Linked DNA regions of Homo sapiens: region 2 is linked to region 1. Evidence: promoter capture Hi-C in 16 types of primary human blood cells and fetal thymus (Javierre and others, 2016). All regions are on one chromosome and are shown on one strand. The core of a region is centred on a gene start or on the middle of the fragment in contact, and the rest is flanking DNA. Distances in the headings are between cores, read along the strand shown.

The links. The method cuts DNA at HindIII sites, captures the fragments that hold promoters and counts their contacts. A CHiCAGO score of 5 or more calls a contact.
Region 2: a fragment that was not itself captured here is called in contact with the fragment with the promoter of CLCN5 in region 1 in 3 of 17 cell types (non-activated CD4 T cells, neutrophils and total CD8 T cells); the score reaches 11.1 in non-activated CD4 T cells.

Annotation. Positions count from the first base shown.
Region 1 is chrX:49,920,882-49,924,745 of GRCh38, forward strand. It overlaps CLCN5 (chloride voltage-gated channel 5), which reads left to right and starts at 1,715. Exons shown (of 15, transcript NM_001127898.4): 1 at 1,715-1,911; 2 at 2,526-2,601. RefSeq lists a silencer at 1,977-2,026. The HindIII fragment of the contact is 4,286 bases long and covers 1-2,478 here.
Region 2 is chrX:52,263,267-52,266,860 of GRCh38, forward strand. LOC105377209 (a long non-coding RNA gene) reads right to left here and starts at 2,665. Exons shown (of 4, transcript XR_938385.3): 1 at 2,482-2,665. The HindIII fragment of the contact is 2,389 bases long and covers 235-2,623 here.

The DNA.
Region 1 (3,864 bases), core at 465-2,964:
CCTGTACTGATATTTTCTAGTTATTTGTGGCTATCCCATACACCATGAGTGCCTGAAGGAAGGGACTGAATGTTACCAGCTCAGAAAGCAAAAAAATTTTGGACTGAAAAAATAAAAATCCGGCCATTCATCAGGCCGGAATAACACACAGATAAAACCAGATGCAAATTTAACAGAGAACAATATTTCTTTGGCGGACATATTGCAGCTGTAAAGTGGTAACGATGTTTTTATTTCAGTGACCACCACTTTTTTATTCACTGAGAGACTTTGTTCTCTAAAATCGTAGATTATCAGAAACTTTTCTGCTTGAAATCGTATCAGTAAGAATGAAACATCCCACATGCATCTGGAGGACATAAGTTTCTTTGACACAGAGAAGCAGCCTCAATTTCCAACCCAGGTGCAGAGCTTCAGATAAGGGGTATCTGGACACAACATTCCACATCTATCTTTATTTTGTGGTTCCCAAGGAAACACAACTCTGGGTTCACTTTGCAGTTCAGACCTGATGGTGACCCCAAATGACAGTACTGCTTTGCTTTGAGCTTACCAAAAACACTGCTTTGTTTAAAATTCACCTAAACTCCACTCTTCTCTCCAATCCTATAATGACTCCATGTTTTTCTGTTTGATGAAATGCCTACCGTGTGCAGTCTCTCATATTGCAATGGGTCAAAGCCTGACTATGTCGGATTACAAATTTGTCCCCGGTAGCCTTATGCTGATTGGGCTAGGATAGGGGTTTTTAAATCCCTGACCACTTAGCTTGTCCAAAGTAGGCATTCCAAATTGTTCACTGCAGTAGAGTACCCTGGTTCTAGTTAGATTACTTGGATTATATGGATTCCAGTCTCAGGTCTGCCAAGAACTAATTAGCTGGATCATCTTAAGTGAGTCAGTGCACCCCATTTGGCCTAAGTTTTCTCTTCTGCAAAACGGTGTGCTGTTTCTTTCAAACCTAGGGTAAGGGCTTTGGAGTAAGTTAGACCTAGGTTGGATTCCCAGTTCTACCACGTACTAGTCCTGTGACTTCAGCTTTTCTGAGCCTCTGTTTTGTAATGATTAATATGGAGATAATACAGTACTAACAACTGCAGTATAGTTTTTGCAGCGTTGCTGGAAACATCAAGTTGGCTGTTAAAAGTATCACTACGTTTGATCACTATTCCTATTCCTACTATTATATGAGTTTAGACAAGTTACTTAACCTTTCTGTGCCTGTGTATTTTTATGAGTAAAAATGGAGAAATAACCCTCGGGGTTATTGTGAACACCAAATGAGACGAAAAAAGTAAAGGGGTTAGGAGAGTGCCTGGCACATAAGAAGCAGCTCAAATTATGTGATCTAATGTTATTAGTATTAGATTTCTACTACTAATTACTCTGTGGGCCGAAAGCTCAGGATAGACAGTTTCATTCTAAGGACAAACCTTCTCCCCAGCAAAAAAAGGCACTGCAAGCTGGAAATAGTGAAACACAATGGGGCATTGCGTTTTCAAAGGCAACTGACACGCCCAGCACTGGGATAGGACCCGCCCGCCCAGTCCTCATTAAATATGGCAGCGAGCGGGGCCGACGTACTGCGGCTGCGCAAGTTGAAACTCCTCCTGGCAGCTCCTCCCCGGCGGGCCTCCCCTCATCTCGGCTGGGTAGAGGTGCCGGGTGTGAGCTCGGCGTGGCGCGCACGCGCAGACGCTGGCTGGGCTGAGCCGATACTCGCGAGGCGCCCTGTCACATGAGCCGCGCGCCCGCTTCGCTCCCCCTCCTCCCCGGCTGGGCTGTGTGAATGAAGCTCTGCCGGCTACGTGGGGCGCTCACTCAACTTGGTGTCCTGGACGCCAGAGCCGACCGAGCGCGCTGCCCACCGGCGGCGGACACGGGCTCCGCCGCTCCGGACCTCGGCGACAGGTAAAGGCAAACGGGCTGTCCCTTCCCCAACAGGTCCTTGGCGGGCCGCTGGCCCCCGGCCCACCCCCGGAGCACCCCCTAAGCGCAGCGACACAGGGGAAGCGCAATCCCGCTGGCTTGGACCCCCGGAGATGGGGCTTCCCCGCGCCCGGCGTTGGCAGCCCGGCGCTTAGAGGAGGTAGACAGGCTAGTTCCAGCCAGTGCTGAGCGGCGTCTTCCCGGGAGCCCAGCCCTGTTCTCCGAGTTATGGTCCCTGGGTTGCCCGAGCGAAGTTTCCTTGCGGAGCGGCGCCAAGCCCGCCCCGCTTTTGAATCGGAGTGTTTAGCCGCCTGCGTCCCCTTTCCCGGACTGGGGTAGGGTGACTTAGGCTGGCAAAGCTCAGCCGAGGCCCGGCTCTTCTCCCTCCGGCTCTGGACTTGCCGCTGGTTTTGTATGGGTCTTAGCAAAGTGGAGAAACTCTCGGAAAAGTAGTTGCTGCGCTGTTTTCCTTTTGCCACTTAACGCGCGTAGCTGGTTCTCTCCAGACTTTCGAGCCTTGCTCTTGAGCGCCTTGATCCACACGGGAAAAGCTTTGCCTTTACATTGACGCACGTTTCCTTTGATTAACATTTCAGAGCAAATCAGTTGCCTGGAGTTCCCAGTGAAGTTGTACCTGTGCCCGTGCGATAACGTCAGTGGAAGCTGCCCCGAGTAAGTGAGGGAAATCTAGAAGTTTGGAGCATAAAAAACCAGCACGAATCAACTTTACATAAACTTCATACATTTATTAGCAACTGCTCGGGTTTAACTTCAGGGATGTTAAATTTCGCCTAGTCCCACGGGACGATGATCATTACTTCTTAACTGCACGCGAAATAGGAGAAGAAAAAAGGCAAATCAAAACAGACTGTCCCAGGTCTCAGAGAAGTCATCGGAGCGCTTTTTCCTGCTGAATTCACCCTAGGAGTTTGTGAGTTCCTAGTTTTCTTGGACTTCGCGAACTTTTCCTTGTCCAAAGCACTGTCTTTTCTCTGTTGGTGTTTTGGGACTGGTGTACACATTAACCCTTTTGTCATTAAAGAAGGCCAACACGATTCTCAAGCTAGTATTAGCCTTCAGTGTTTGTGCTTTAGCACTTTCACTTAGGAGGTGGAGGTGTTGGTTGTATAAAAGATATGGAAATAACAATCTACTTTGATGTTCACCAGGTCAAAAAGGTGAAGACTTTTAGAAAAAACAGATTGGCTTGTATGCTAAGTAGGGAAGACCAGTTTATTAACTGAGATCTTGTTTAAATGGGCAAGCAGAGTGTTAAGCCTCTAAGTCAAACTAAGTCGTCAGACCTCTCATTTTTTCTCCCATTCCTAGCTCCTATTTTTTTTTTTTTTTTTGGTTTGAGCCGGCTCTCGTTCTGTCGCCCAGGCTGGAGTGCAGTGGCACAATCTTGGCTCACTGCAACCTCCGCCTCCCTCCCGGGTTCAAGCGATTCTCCTGCCTCAGCCTTCCGAGTAGCTGGGATTACAGGCGTCACTTGTAATTATAGTGCACCGCCATACCTGGCTAATTTTTGTATTTTTAGTAGAGACGGGGTTTCACCATGTTGGCCAGGCTGGTCTCGAACTGACCTCAGGTGATCCGCCTGCTTCGGCCTCCCAAAGTGCTGGGATTACACCGCACCCGGCCCCTAACTCCTTTAATATCTTTGCAAATATTGTCCTAGGACTGGATTTGAAGTTTTAACAACAGGAATTAGCTGAATTAATTTGGTTTTCTTTAAACTGGTATTCCATTTTTACATTTTTCTTCTTCTTTGGTTCATTTTCCCCCTGATTATAAAAGCAATATACGCTCACTATAGGAAATTTGCAAAGGGTGGGAAAGTATAATGACACAAGGAGAGAGAACTACTACTCAAAGGGTATCATCACTCTTCACTTTTTATTCCGCTTCCTTTTTTTTCCCCTATACAAGATC
Region 2 (3,594 bases), core at 179-2,678, 2.3 Mb after region 1:
TCCTTCTTTATTTCCCTCCCTGTCTTCTCTCCTCTTTGCCCTGCCTTGTTTTTCTTCTTAATCATAAAATTATTTTATTGATATTTTAAGTGGCATAAATACAATAAATTTGAGGGAGAATGAGGAAGATGTTAGCTAATGAATAGGTCATGTAGGCCTCCACAAAGCTTCAGGACTAATACAGACATGAACAGACACCTGAGCTTGCCCTTGTAACTCCGCGAACACACCACAAGCTTCAGGATAGTTTGTCTCTGATGCTCAAGTAGTCTCAGGAGTTACCAGACAATGGTGGGGAGAGATAGCTTAGAAGTGACGCTCTCTGTACACACATATAAAAACCGCTGATGCAGCACCTTGTAGGCCCCTTTTAAAGCGTGATGATTCCTGTGATGGTTAATACTGAGTGTCAACTTGACTGCATTGAAGGATGCAAAGTATTGATCCTGGGTGTGTCTGTGAGGGTGTTGCCAAAGGAGATTAACATATGAGTTAGTGGGCTGGGAAAGGCAAACCCACCCTTAATCTGGGTGGGCACCATCTAATCAGCAGCCAGTGCGGCCAGAATGTAAGGCAGGCAGAAAAACGTGAAGAGACTAGGCTGGCTCAGCCTCGCAGCCTACATCTTTCTCTCATACTGGATGCTTCCTGCCCTCGAACATCAGACTCCAAGATCTTCAGCTTTGGACCCAGACTGGCTTCCTTGCTCCTCAGCTTACAGATGGCCTATTGTGGGACCTTGTGATCGTGTGAGTTAATACTACTTAATAAACTCCCATATAGATATATATATATTACTTTTGTCCCTCTAGAGAACCCTGACTAATACAACTCCCTTTGAACTCCAAGTTTATTTTTACAGAGAGCTTGTCCTGCTACTGACAGTGTATTGACTTGTATTTGGTAATCCCTTCCATTTTGTGTTTCTTTATCTGTTAGTCAATCTCCTTCAAACATTCCAAATAAATTTGAATTCTACAAGAGAAAGTACAAATCCTAAAGCCTTCCCTTTATGATCTGGATTTAATATGGGAATCCTTATGTCAACATGAAAGATAAGGAAAACAAAAGAATGTTCTGTTCCAGTCATGGGGGAGTAGAAGGCATGGAGACAGTGTCTCATCCCAGTCTCTCTTCTAAGGGCCTTATCTTACATGTGACAGGTGTGTCAGAGAAGTGGAAGGGAGTTCCAAATAAAGAGATTTTTGCCCAACTGAAATTTAGGACTCAGAAGTTTACTTTTGCAGGATGAAATAGTGAGCTCCTTGGTTAGAATAATGGCTGGAGTTCAGGAATTTCTATTTTTGGAGCTGATCTTGGTTCCTGCAGGGAGCTAACATTCTCTGAGAGGGGGACTGTGGAAGTGGCTGATTCAAGAGCCAGGGGTGCTACCATGAAACAAGCATAAGCCAGATAGGGGCTAGGTGACCCTGCAGCTGAGGCTGTGGTGTGGACAGCCCTGCCCAGATGTGGGAGGGAGATGAGGCCCAGATTCAGAGGGGTCTGCTGATGCCAGCACGGGTGGGCCAAGGCCGAGTCAGCCTGGGAGCACCAGATTCCCTCACAAGCCACCGAGAACACTGCAATCAACATAAGATGTCACCGACCCCTTCCCATTATCACCATGAAGACTGGAAAGCCATACGCACCATTAATCATCTTGGAAAGGAGTAGGGAGGTGGGGCAGAAAACTGGGAGACTGATCATTTTCAGCAAAACAGGGTGAGCATTTATACAAATGGACCATTCACATGATAGCATCAGCTGACACCAGATTAAACATAACTCCAGTATTTTCTCACCTTCTTGTCCAGTACAGAGGTTATACATTCATAATGAAGATCAGATCAGTCTTAGCAAGTAAATGCATCAAAGCCCCCAATCAGGTCTGAGAAGCACGAATTAATTTGTGGTCTCTGCACACCATCTCTTCCAGCTCCCCCTCTGCCCACTGTCTTATCAGTCCGTGGAAGAGGGCATTGAGACATCCTTGCCTCCTCTTCTCCTTTAACCGAGGACAATTTTAACCTGTTATAAATTGACCCTGACAACAGAGCACAGAAAGAGGAGAGGACCAGAAGAGAGACACACAGAGTGGAGTAACAGATGAGAGTTATTGCTGAGGTGAGCAGGGCCTCCTCAAGGCTTACAGCTGCCCTCCACAAGTGATACCAGGCTCCACTGCCCTTTATGAACACAGAAATTCTTTCTCAGGGTCTATGCCCTGGAGCTTAGAGTCAGAAAATATTCGTAGCTCTGTGTACTGCTGGAGAAAATCACAGAACCACATGTTAGAACCACTGCATTTTCATAGTCATCATTGTCTCCTGGGATCTCAGTGCCCAGCAGCAGGCTTTCTTGGTGACTCTTGTCCCCCCTCCAGTCCCTTCTGAGGGGATCCCAAGATTTCTCCTCTCTCCTGGAACCCTCTACCACACATCTATCCCCTCGCTTTTAGCCATAGCAAATTCCCATTCTCACCTGAGATCCAAGCAGGTAGTGAGAGGGAGGAAGGCCTCAGTGCTGGAAAGGGGTATGGATTCCGTTGTCTTGGCAACATTCTTCTTCACATCGGCACTGGGTCACTCAGCTCAGATCCATGGTTGGTTACCTGGGAAACTGAAGCTTTATCCATCTGACTCCAGAGAATAGCAAACAAAAGAGTGGAAACTAAGAGGATTATCATGGGAGGCCACCCACAGACATGGAATCGTGACTCTCAATAGATGTGTTTGTCACAAGGGTCCTTGCACATGCAGAGACAATGTACATGTGTTTACTCAGTAGCACTCATTGCTCCCTAGAGGAGCACAGTGACTATGGCAAAAGGTACACATTGGGGAGGCAGAGGATGAGGTGGGAATGTAGGCACGTGACAGATCATGAAAAGCATGGAACATATAATATCAACGACAACCTCTTCACTGAACGTAACCAAGATGCTGTCTCACAGTCCCTTGCAGCCATGAGTGAGCACCTCACTGTGAGGGTATGGGCAACTGCTTCTCCATAATGTACAAGGCCCCTCTTCAACGGTTGAATTTGGGGGCTACATTTAGAACTCATAAAGGCAAACTATTCCCAATATGGTAGAAAAACAAGTCCCCAGAGCTCCAACCTTCCAAATCTATTAAGGAAGCCCAACATGTGGTAGGAAACTTTGGATTCTGGCACCATGACATTCCTCACATCCAATATTTGCTGGATGCTATCTATGGAGTCTCCCTTAAGTCTTCTGCTTTCCAGTGGGGACCTGAGCAACAGACACTAGAGAAACTAAAGGAAGCTATTACTTCTCTTCTCTCATCTGCTCCAAAGGCATGACTTACAATGAGAATTTTCTGCCATGCCAAATTTGCTTCCAGGCGCCTCTGGACCAAATGGATAGGCAAACACCTACCCATCAGCTTTTGCTGTAAGTGGCTCCCAGCCTAAGCCCAAAGATATTCACCATGAGCGAGGCACCACCTGGCAGTGTACTGGGCACTTCTTAAAACTAAAGCCCTTACTGGGGTAGAGCCAATTACCCTGTTATGCCCTGCACAGTGGAAGAAGCTCTCCTTAAAACTGAATCTGCAACAGAGACTCCCTTAT